Linked DNA regions of Homo sapiens: all the other regions are linked to region 3. The links are contacts of gene promoters, found by promoter capture Hi-C in blood cells and fetal thymus (Javierre and others, 2016). All regions are on one chromosome and are shown on one strand. Each heading gives the region's core, a stretch centred on a gene start or on the middle of the fragment in contact. The rest is flanking DNA. Distances are from core to core; before and after follow the strand shown.

Region 1 (3,822 bases), core at 1,199-3,698, 1.4 Mb before region 3:
AGAGCTTTTACAGGTTGAAGATGGTTCTTGGGGGGAGCTTCTGGGAGAAGCTGTCTCTGACTCTGAGGGTGTGGGGATTGTTCTTTCTTCCCGCTCCCATAGTCCCCTGAGCCTTGGCCACCCTGGATTCAGAGCACTGTGAGGCCACTGCCTTATTTCTTGTCTGTCTTCCTCTTTTCCACAGACTGTGGGCTCCCAAAGAGCCAGGCTTATGTTCTTCTTGCACCCCCAACAGAGCACACTGAGCTGGGGGCTGCGATGCTGAAGGCAGCTGTCCACATCACTTGCTCTCTGCGCGGGCCGGTCAGCTCCAGAGGAATTCATCTGGGGCAGGCCCAACTCGGCCCGCTGAATTAGCCTCCACGATCCCCGGGCCTCCCCGGCGCCAGGGGGCGCTGTAAACGTTCCGTCCCTGCCCCTGCGGCCGCAGTCGTCGGCCCCATCCGCGCGATGGGCTCTGAGGCGGCGCAGCTGCTGGAGGCTGCCGACTTCGCGGCTCGCAAGCACCGGCAGCAGCGGCGGAAGGACCCCGAGGGGACCCCCTACATCAACCACCCCATCGGTGGGCGCGTCGGCCGCGGAGCGCCGGCTGCGGCACCTGGGTGGTGGGGACTGGGAAGGAAACGTGGGGGGCGTGCACCTCATTGAGCACCTGTTTTGTCCCAAGCTTAGTGCGATATACCGTTTAAGCCTCATAACAATTGGAACGGTAGGCATGATCGTTCCCTTTGTCGGTTGGCTCCCAGAGGGTAAGGTACTTGACCAAGGTCACCCAGCTAGTCAGAGTCCACAAGGGGCCACATCTGGCTCTCCAAAACCCACAACACACCGCCTTGGGACTACCTCCGACCTGACTTCCTGCTTTGCCCCTCCCCGTCAGGTGTGGCACGGATCCTGACCCACGAGGCGGGAATCACTGACATTGTGGTGTTACAGGTAACTTTCCCCCTTCTCTGCCAGGAGCCTGGGATGGGGATTAGGGGCCCCATTCAGCAATGGGCAACCCTTGGCTGACATCTCAGGGCTGAGTGGGAACTTGTCCCCAGGCGGCCCTGCTCCATGACACGGTGGAGGACACAGACACCACCCTGGATGAGGTGGAGCTACACTTTGGGGCACAAGTGCGGCGCCTGGTGGAGGAGGTAACAGATGACAAGACTCTGCCCAAGCTGGAGAGAAAGAGGCTGCAGGTGGAGCAAGCGCCCCACAGTAGCCCCGGGGCCAAACTGGTGAAGCTGGCAGACAAGCTGTACAATCTGAGGGACCTGAATCGCTGCACCCCAGAGGGTACGCTTTCGTATGGGCTGTAAGGGAAAAGGGAGGGGGATGCCGCCTTCTGAAGACACATGTTGGTCAGTTCCCCTGAAAAACCCTGGGCATTCTTAATTCCCAAATTAATCCTACTGGACCACTCTTTGATCTTCTTTCATACAGTAAAAATACAATAGCTGGGCCAAGGGGAAGTTTTCAGGACAGCTCATTCCATCAGGAACTCATGGCCTTGAACCAAGCTTGCCAGGAAGTGGGGAAAAGGCAGTGCTTTCCTTGACATCACGCTAGCAAGTTTCTGTCGACTCTTATGCAGGATGGTCAGAACATCGAGTCCAGGAATACTTCGAGTGGGCAGCGCAGGTGGTGAAGGGGCTTCAGGGAACAAACCGGCAACTGGAAGAGGCTCTAAAGCATCTGTTCAAGCAGCGGGGGCTGACAATCTGATCAGTGCTTGAAGCTATCCAGAGGCACAACTCCAGCCTCGTTCAGGCCGGACAGGATTCATACGCCATCTTTTCTGTGTCTCCTGAGCTCCCTCCATCCTTCCCAGATATTAGAGGCCAAAAAAAGACTTGCATTTTTTCTCAGTCTGAAGGTCTCCTGCTAACTAAGCTGAGCCCCGCGTGGTGGGAATCAGATGTACCCATCCATTTCTGATGCACTCACCGCCTCTCCCCAAGTCTTGGGTCTGTTTGCTATTTTGCATGGTGGGATCTCTGGCCCCTCAGGGACTTGAGATTATTTAAGTACTAGTTCCTAACACGTTCTGGAAAATAAAAATAACTCTGGGTTAAGGTTTAAGCTGCTGCTGCTCCTTCTCCAGCCTCCGACTGGTGGGCTGCATATCTTTCCTTCAGCAAAGCAGGACTAATTGTGTGTCCCGGAGTCACCTCCCTCAGGTTGCGGGCCTCAACCCCTCCGAACCTGGCTTCCTTGTCAGTGACATGGGTTGTGTAATTATCAGGTTAGACTGTGACGTGCCTGATGGAGCCTGACACATAGGTGCTCAAGAAATGGTAGCAGCCTTTCCCGTTAAGAAAGTTGGAAGGGGGCCAGGCGCGGTGTCTCTCGCCTGTAATCCCAGCACTCTGGGAGACCGAGGCGGGCGGATCACTTGAGGTCAGGAGTTCAAGACCAGCCTGGCCAGCATGGCGAGGCCCCGTCTCTACTAAAAATACAAAAAAAAATTAGCCGGGCGCAGTGGCTCGCGCCTGTAATCCCAGCTACTCAGGAGGCTGAGGCAGGAGACTCGCTTGAACCCGGGAGGCGGAGTTTGTACTGAGCCGAGATCGCGCCACTGCACTCCAGCTTGGGTGACACAGCGAGACTCCGTCTCAAAAATGAAAAAAGAAAAGACGTATCGGAAGGGAGTGCCGCCCGCTTACTGACAACCACTGCTGGGCACCGGAGAGACCCCAGCAGCAACATGATTGGGCCGGTGGGGGATTCCGGTTCCCCAGTACCTCAAGCCGCGCGGGAAACTCGGTGACTCGCAATCCCCTCGCCCTTCCGCATTGCGGGTTACTTCGGTTGTTAAGTGACAGGGACTTCCGGGAAGGCCCGGAAGTGGCCCGGGGCTGTCCGACCCCGGGAGCCCGGCGGTCGGCGTAGGGGAGGCGGTGGAACTTTGCTCGGTGGCCATGGGGAGGGATTGCCCGGTGGTGGTTTTTCAGTCGTTGCTGAGCAGCTGAGGTTTATTTTTATGTATTTTATTCTGCATCCAGTCATCCATTAAAGCCAAAGTTTATTAAGTTGTCTGGAAAAGCGATCATCTTGGGTACGAGGAAATTGTTAGGTCAAAGCTGTTCGACTACGATAGTTGTTTGCCCAAGTGAAGGCCCCAGCGGAGGGCTCTGCGAAAAAGTAGGTGAAAGGCAACCAAAAAAGCCGAATTAAAAGAAAACAAATGAACAAAGTTCAGAGTAATCCCCAGGGTATGGTACATTTTGGAGAACTTTGAACTTAATTTTTTTAAATAGTTTTGCGGGAGTAAGATAACGAGATTTTTTTAAGAAAAGATGACTTTGTTGTAGTCCACTTTATATATTTTGTTGCCTGTGTTTTTAGTGTCATATCTAAGAAATCGTTGCCAAATCTAATGCCATGAAGCTTTTCCTGTTTTCTTCTAGGAGCTTTCGTTTTAGCTTTTTTTTTTGAGACGGAGTTTCACTCTTGTTGCCCAGGCTGGAGTGCAATGGTGCCATCTCTGCTCACCATAACCTCCGCTTCCCGGGTTCAAGCTATTCTCCTGCCTCAGTCTCCCGAGTAGCTGGGATAACAGGCGTGCGCCACCACGCATGGCTAATTGTTGTATTTTTAGTAGTGACGGGATTTATCCTTGCTGCCCAGGCTGGTCTTTAACTCCTGACTTCAGGTGATCCACCCGCCTTGGCCTCCCAAAGTTATCGTTTTAGCTCTTACAAGTAAAGTTTTTGATCCATTTTGGGTTAAATTTCTTTTTAAATCAATTTAATTTGGTATAAGGTATACATGATGTTATGAGGCTACATACAGGTAGTAAAAAGGTTACTATAGTGAAGCAAATTAACA
Region 2 (4,007 bases), core at 1,247-3,746, 1.4 Mb before region 3:
TCCTTCACACTGCAGCAGAGGCTTCATAGTCCTTCTGCTCAACTCTGTAGTACCTGACAGTACTAGATGCTCTTTGGACACTCAGTAAATAGTCTAATTGCATCTTCTTCAGAGCTATGGCCCTGAGCACCTGCTAACCTTCTCCAATCTGCGAAGAGCTGGGCTCCTAACGGAGCAGGCCCCCGGGGACACCCTCACAGCCGTGGAGAGTAAAGTGAGCAAGCTGGTGACCGACAAGGCTGCAGGTAAGCAGGGAGCACAAGTGACCCCTGCTCCAGCTGTTGTCCTGACTTCTCTCAACACGCAGCATGCTGGGAGGGACAGAATGAATTGGAGAAGGTGGACTGATTCCTTCCTATTAATGTCATTACTATTATTACTACTACTTCTGCTAGTAAGAGCAGTTTCCACATAGTAAACACTTACCATGTGCTGAGCCCTTTAGTTTCTCATTTAATCTCACAAAGACTGTGAGATAAATTTTCTCATCCTCATTTTATGATGAAACTGAGGCTTAGAGAATTAAGTGATTTGTCCAAGGTCCCTTAGTTAGTAAGTTAGGTCGGTTTAACTCCCAAAGCACATACCAATAAACTCGGGTTACCCTGTGGATTGCATTTAGTAGAGAGCTGGTACCCCGTAGGAGGGGGAAGACTGTGGGTGGGGAGAAGGGTGGGGAGTATATCTTGATTAGTTCCAGGGAATTATAGTTGAACAGCTTCCGAGAGTTTTTGGATGTGATTGGTGCTGTCGTGTCCTGAATGGTGTTATCTGTGGCAGTGTCATGAATCCATAGACCTTAGGTGAAACCTGACACAGATTTCTTCCCCAGGAAAGATTACTGATGCCTTCAGTTCTCTGGCCAAGAGGAGCAATTTTCGTGCCATCAGCAAAAAGCTGAATTTGGTATGTGGAACAGGGATGGTTAGGGGAGACAGTGGGTTCATTCCATTGTGGAGTACTTTTCTTTTTTTTTTTTTTTTTTGAGATGGAATCTTGCTCTGTTGCCCAGGCTGGAGTGCAGTGGCACAATCTCAGCTCACTGCAACCTCTGCCTCCCAGGTTCAAGTGATTCTCCTGCCTCAGCCTCCCAAGGGATTACAGGCATGTGCCACCACGCCCAGCTAATTTTTGTATTTTTAGTAGAGACAAGGTTTCCCCATGTTGGCCAGGCTGGTCTTGAACTTCTGACCTCAGGTGATCCGCCCACCTCGGCCTCCCAAAGTGCTGGGATTACAGGCATGAGCCACTGCGCCCAGCCCATTGTGGAGTACTTTGAATCCACAAAAACCTTTTTGTCATTTCATGTGTATAAAGATTCTTTTGTTTGGTAGTCTTATAGCATGGTAGATTCATTCATTTAATCAACATGTAACAAGCACCTGCCAATGCCAGAGAATATTCTAAGTGCTGCTTCAGTGACAACCATATCCTGTGTCACTTAAGGGTAGGGAAAGGAGAAGCCATCCCTCCAGCCCCTTTACATTATTCAATAATGGCGCATGGGAACTCATTCCAGAGAACTGGCAGTTACTGAACAAAAACTGCCATCTTCCGTTATGGATTCTCTTTTCAGGGCTATTGCTGGTTCTCCCTTTAGTTGAAATAAGAATTGTTCCTTGGGCCATGCCACTTTATCTGACCCTTTAAAGGGTTAGGGAGCTGAGCTGTCACTTGCCTAATGAAGTCCCTTTGTCTTACAGATCCCACGTGTGGACGGCGAGTATGATCTGAAAGTGCCCCGAGACATGGCTTACGTCTTCGGTGGTGCTTATGTGCCCCTGAGCTGCCGAATCATTGAGCAGGTGAGAGCATGTAATTCTTGCTCCCATTCATATTTCATTCTCTCTGCTTTCTCTTGGTCCCTGGCGTGTCTCAATGTTTTTTTTTTTTTATTTGAGATGGAGTCTTGCTCTGTCACCCAGGCTGGAGTGCGGTGGCACGATCTTGGCTCACTGCAACCTCCACCTCCCAGATTCAAGTGATTCTCCTGCCTCAGCTTCCGAAGTAGCTGGGACTACAGGCATGTGCCACTGCACCCAGCTAATTTTTGTATTTTTAGTAGAGATGGGGTTTCATATAGACAGGGCCAACTATATGTTGACCAGGCTGGTCTCGAACTCCTGACCTCAGGTGATCCCCCCGCCTCAAACTCCTAAAGTGTTGGAATTACAGGCGTGAGCCACCACACCTGGCCCTGTCTCAACTTTTTGCTACTTGAGTAATGAGCAAGAAATGTGACAGTCTGGCTGCTGTGCCCTTCCTTTCCTAAGCCTGATACTGTCTGTAGCCTTAAAAACAGTGCTTACACCTTCCCAGGTGCTAGAGCGGCGAAGCTGGCAGGGCCTTGATGAGGTGGTACGGCTGCTCAACTGCAGTGACTTTGCATTCACAGGTATGTGGCATTAACAGTGGGGTAGGCTGGCAGTGAGAGGTGGGCTGGATGCACCACTCAGGACTAGCATGTCAGGGAAGGGCTGAATCTGGTCTGATCCTCACAGATATGACTAAGGAAGACAAGGCTTCCAGTGAGTCCCTGCGCCTCATCTTGGTGGTGTTCTTGGGTGGTTGTACATTCTCTGAGATCTCAGCCCTCCGGTTCCTGGGCAGAGAGAAAGGTAAGAGAGAGCAGAAAGGTGAGAATTGGCCTGCATTGTATCTGGGTAACAAAGTGTCAGCTGGGCACGGTGGTTCATACCTGTAATCTCAGCACTTTGGGAGGCGGAGGCGGGCAGATCACCTGAGGTCAGGAGTTAGAGCCTAGCCTGACCAACATGGTGAAACCCCATCTCTACGAAAAATACAAAAATTAGCCAGGCATGGTGGCCGGTGCCTGTAATGCTAACTACTCGGGAGGCTGAGGCAGGAGAATTGCTTGAACCCGGGAGGTGGAGGTTGCAGTGAGCTGAGATTGCACCATTGCACTCCAGCCTGGGCAACAATAGCAAAACTCCATCTCAAGAGAAAAAAAAAAAACACGCAAAGTGTCCTGCACAGGAATATTTTTCTCCTGGCCTCAGAATACAACTTGCCATAGCCTTAACTCTGGGCTGCCACAGCAGGGAGCCCAGTTATACCAGTCATAGAAAGCAGTGGTGCCCAAGAGCATGGCACTCACGTCTCTGTCTATAAACTGGTGCTGTGATCCCGTGGGGACTGTGGAACTGGAGAGGCTCTATGGGTTGCCGTTGGGGCCTAAGATCTGTGCTGTCTCTTCTGCTGCTGCATTTGACTCCTTAGGCTACAGGTTCATTTTCCTGACGACAGCAGTCACAAACAGCGCTCGCCTTATGGAGGCCATGAGTGAGGTGAAAGCCTGATGTTTTTCCCGGCCAGTGTTGACATCTTCCCTGAACACATTCCTCAGTGAGATGCAGGCATCTGGCACCCAGCTGCTATAACCAAGTGTCCACCAACTACCTGCTAAGAGCCGGGAGCATGGAACGTGTTGGGATTTAGAGAACATTATCTGAGAAAAGAGTTCACTTCCTGCTCCCAGGATATTTCTCTTTTCTGTTTATGAAGTACAACCCATGCTGCTAAGATGCGAGCAGGAAGAGGCATCCTTTGCTAAATCCTGTTTGAATGTCATTGTAAATAAAGCCTCTGCTCTCAGATGTAATACGTTGGTCGTTCTGGACACGCACTTCCATCTTTATTAGTGAAAGCCCATTGGAGCTTGCTACAGGGGCTTCCTGTGCTTCTTGGCCTGGACTTTGTAGTGGCTCCAGGCCTGGTCTGGTTCTTCCCTGTAAAAATCACTCTACCACTCTGTACCTGAGTTTCCTCTACCATAAAATGAGGGAGATGGCTGAGGTGACCAGCAAGCACGTTTCCAGTTCTAAAATGTTGTGATTCATTACATTTTTGAGAAAATGACTTTGTTGTTTTAATTTAAGGAGGCACTTCAATTTTAAGCGTTTGTTTCTTATTGCAGAATGAAAGATTGTGTGCCATTAGAGCCATTTCAGGCATCAGCAAACAGTGCTCCTATAAATGTGCCAGCA
Region 3 (3,473 bases), core at 214-2,713:
TCTCAAAAAATAATAATAAATAAATATATATATGTATATAAATAAATGTGTATATATATGTGTGTGTGTGTATATATATATATATATATATATATATATATATATATATACACACACACATACACACACACCCCTGGGTATTGTGTTAAAACCTGCTGCTTGCCTCTGAGGTATTTTTAGACTAGATGGAGGGTGAGAGATGTGCATAATCAAAACATATGGAGAAATGGTTAAGTGCCACACAAAATGTGTATGGCAATTCAGACGCTGGACTGAGCAGTTGTCACTGGGAGAAGAAGCCTTAAAGGGTAAGTGAAGTTAAGACTGGCCTGGAAGAGTGAGAACTGGCATTCCAGGCAGATTGAACAACACACATAACACAAAACAAGCAGTCCAGACCTGTTGATTTTCTGGACTGGACTTCAATATGCTAGAGTAGATGTAGTGTGTAGGAAAATCAAGTCTGGGAAGGCAGGTAGGGCCCAAATTGTGAGGGGTCTTAAACAGTAGGTAGTGAGGAACTACCCATTTTGTTGTGAAAACTGTTCCTATTTATTTGTTTCCTTCCGAAGGGACGCATAGTCATATTAGTCTCATTCGGGGTCTGTGGCTGTTCTAAGGACGCTGCCAAGTTCTGGTTAGCAAGGAAAGCACCGTGCACGCCATCTGAGACGACAGTAACCTTCCTTACCTTAGACCATTCGGTGGTATCCACCCAGTAGAAGGTGATTTTTCGGGCGACCATGACTTCCCGGACTCTCTTGGGCAACAACTTCTCCATCACCTGCTTAGGGGTGGGCGGCAGGCGCTGGGCCTGGGCCTCGCACCCAGACACGAACTGCAGCAGCTCCCTCTGCGAGTGCGGACAGGGGGCCAGGAGGAAGACGGCGTTCACCAAGCCCCCGAGCGCGGCCTCGGCCTCCTTGGCCTCGCTCTCCACGTCCAGCAGTCTCCTCCCGCTGCTCCGCAGGATCGGCTTCGTGGGCGACGTGATCTCGGGCCGGTCCCACTGGTAGTCTAGCAGCGTCTCCATCAGGGCGCCGTGCGTGTGGGTGGCCCTGGGCGCCGGGCCGGGCAGGTGGGCGCGATCCTCGAGCCTGGCCTCCAGCTCCTCCTCAAAGTCCTCCCACGAGCGGGACCCCAGCTCGCGGAAGTCAGACACGCGGGACGGCCGGCTCCGCGCCCCCTGCGAGTCAAAGAACTTGAAGGCCCAGTGGACCCTGGCCAGGCCGAATCGGCAACTCAGATAGGTGAGGAGGCGCAGGGCGGCCCGCCGGACCCGGCTGTGGCGGGCGGCGCCGCCCGCGGTGTCCAGCAGCAGCATTACTTTGTGACAGCATGCCATATCGGCCGTGCCGCCGCCCCGGGGCCCCGGTCCGGGCCCGCGCCACCGTCCCTTAGTCCCTTCCTTCAGGGAAACAGCACCACTCACTGCTTTCCTTTGGGACCCTGGTCGAAAGGCTCCCGCGCTCTCCAGGAACTGCTGCTATTGGGGGAGCTAGTTTCCAAGGTTTGCTCCTATTGGCTGCTTGCCTTACGTAAGTTACGAGAGCAACTTCCATTTTTGGCGGTGATTGGAGGGGCAGTGGAGAAAACTTCAGTCTGATTGGTGGAGGGAGTGACGGTGGGCGGGTCTCTGTGGTCCGAGAGAAGCTTAGCATTCATTGGCCTGGGCCTTCGTTTTAAATTTTAAAGAGGTGGTGCCTCGGGGGCGTGTCGAGAAGTTTCGCCATTGGAAAGAGGCCAGCGTTTGTGCGCAGTCGTGAGTGCGGACTGCGGGGCCACGTTTCCCAAGACCGAGGAAAACTTAGTGCCGGGAGGGAATTTGGGATGGTTTGAATCGAACTTGTTGAAATCCCTGTGGACCGCCTAGGAAGTAGAATCTGACGACTACGGCTTTTTCTGTAATTTAAAAAATTTTATTAAAAATTAAAGGTTCACTCCCTTTGCCCCAGTAACTTCTAGGAGTTTATCTGCAGAAGGTAATCGGAGAGCCAGATAAAAGACGTCTGTACATCTTAGAGTTTATTTAACATCAGAAAAAATGGAAACAGTTTGGGAATGGTTAAATAAGGTATGGTACACGCCCAAGGGGAGCATCGTGCAGCTCCTTTTTTTTTTTTTTTTTTTTTTTTTTTTTTTTTGAAACGGAGTCTCGCTCTGTCTCCTAGGCTGGAGTGCATTGACACGATCTTGGCTCACTGCAACCTCCACCTCCCGGGTTCAAGCGATCCTCCTGCCTCAGCCTCCTGAATAGGACTACAGGCGCACGCCACCACCCCAGACTAATTTTTGTATTTTTAGTAAAGACGGAGTTTCACCATGTTGGCCAGGCTGGTCTCAAACTCCTGACCTTGTGATCCACCCGACTTGGCCTCCCAAAGTGCTGGGATTACAGGCGTGAGCCACCAAGCCCGGCCTAGTGCAGCTTCTTAAAATAGTGTTTTATTATGTAATGTTAGGTTTTAAAAGTGGACTGCAAGCAGCACCTGCAGTGAATTCCCTAAATTTTCTATCTACATGTATATATAGATAGAAATCACATGTAGATTTGCATTACAGATAGAAATTATATATCGCTATATAGATAGAATACATAGAATTATATATAGATAGGCCGGGCACGGTGGCTCACGCCTGTAATCCCAGCACTTTGGGAGGCCGAGGCGGGCGAATCACCAGGTCAGGAGATCGAGACCATCCTGGCTAACACAGTGAAACCCTGTCTCTACTAAAAAAAAAAAAACAAAACAAAAAAAAAAGGAATTATATATAGATAGATAATCATAGATAGAAGTTATATATAGATAGAAATGCATTTATATGCATATTTTTAAACTGTTAATATAATATTGTGTACCGGAAGTTGTCTGTGATGGTCTCTCCATGTGATTTTTTTTGAAACTTTTTTACACTTCCTCTTGCTGGACACCAGTGAACAGGCTGATTTCAGAGATGTGAGATGTGCCTCTAGGATCAGTGGAATATGGTATTTGGAAAGAAGAAGGGGACAAAAAATGAAGGTCGGTTACCTGAATATGTGTTTAGGGAGATTGATCCAATACTCCACACCATTGAATTCTGCTTGCTAAGTAATTCTGTTTCCACCTGGAAACAGAACAACTTCCTTTATATGCTTTGGCTACAACTTCCTTTATGTGCCTTGGCTTCTCCAATCAAAGTCCTCAGCAATTACTGCCTCATGTACAACAATTTTCTCTTTTGGTTGAGTTTTCTAGGGCTGCCTGCCATAACAAAGGATCAAACCCAAAAATTGCCTCACAGTTCTGAAGGCTTGATGTCCAAAATCAAAGTGTTGGCATGCACTTGCTCCCCTCCAGCCCCCATGGCTCTAGGGGAGAATCATCCTTTGACTCTTCTAGTTTCTGATGTTTGCTGGCAATTCTTGGTGTTCTTCCTGTGTGTCTTCCCGTCATCTTCCCTCTGTGCATGGCTGTCTCTGTGTCCAAACT

What was found. The method cuts DNA at HindIII sites, captures the fragments that hold promoters and counts their contacts. A CHiCAGO score of 5 or more calls a contact.
Region 1: a contact is called between a fragment that was not itself captured here and the fragment with the promoter of TICRR in region 3, in 2 of 17 cell types (fetal thymus and naive CD8 T cells). The highest score is 8.3, in fetal thymus.
Region 2: a fragment that was not itself captured here is called in contact with the fragment with the promoter of TICRR in region 3 in 1 of 17 cell types (monocytes); the score reaches 6.7 in monocytes.

What each region holds. Positions count from the first base shown.
Region 1 is chr15:90,929,169-90,932,990 of GRCh38, reverse strand. HDDC3 (HD domain containing 3) reads left to right here and starts at 442. Exons shown (of 4, transcript NM_001286451.2): 1 at 442-562; 2 at 881-936; 3 at 1,047-1,287; 4 at 1,586-3,023. The coding sequence starts at 451. The coding sequence ends at 1,716. It also overlaps a transcript of UNC45A not described here. RefSeq lists enhancers at 245-294, 1,045-1,274, 2,905-3,134. The HindIII fragment of the contact is 1,870 bases long and covers 1,514-3,383 here.
Region 2 is chr15:90,998,288-91,002,294 of GRCh38, reverse strand. VPS33B (VPS33B late endosome and lysosome associated) reads left to right here. Exons shown (of 23, transcript NM_018668.5): 18 at 113-245; 19 at 833-906; 20 at 1,704-1,805; 21 at 2,320-2,395; 22 at 2,502-2,618; 23 at 3,241-3,622. The coding sequence ends at 3,320. Among named protein-coding and RNA genes, the nearest start is that of PRC1, 5.8 kb to the right of the region's middle. The HindIII fragment of the contact is 6,968 bases long and covers 1-4,007 here.
Region 3 is chr15:89,573,459-89,576,931 of GRCh38, reverse strand. It overlaps TICRR (TOPBP1 interacting checkpoint and replication regulator), which reads right to left and starts at 1,463. Exons shown (of 22, transcript NM_152259.4): 1 at 692-1,463. The coding sequence starts at 1,345. RefSeq lists an enhancer at 536-1,064 and a silencer at 1,186-1,475. The HindIII fragment of the contact is 7,754 bases long and covers 1-1,655 here.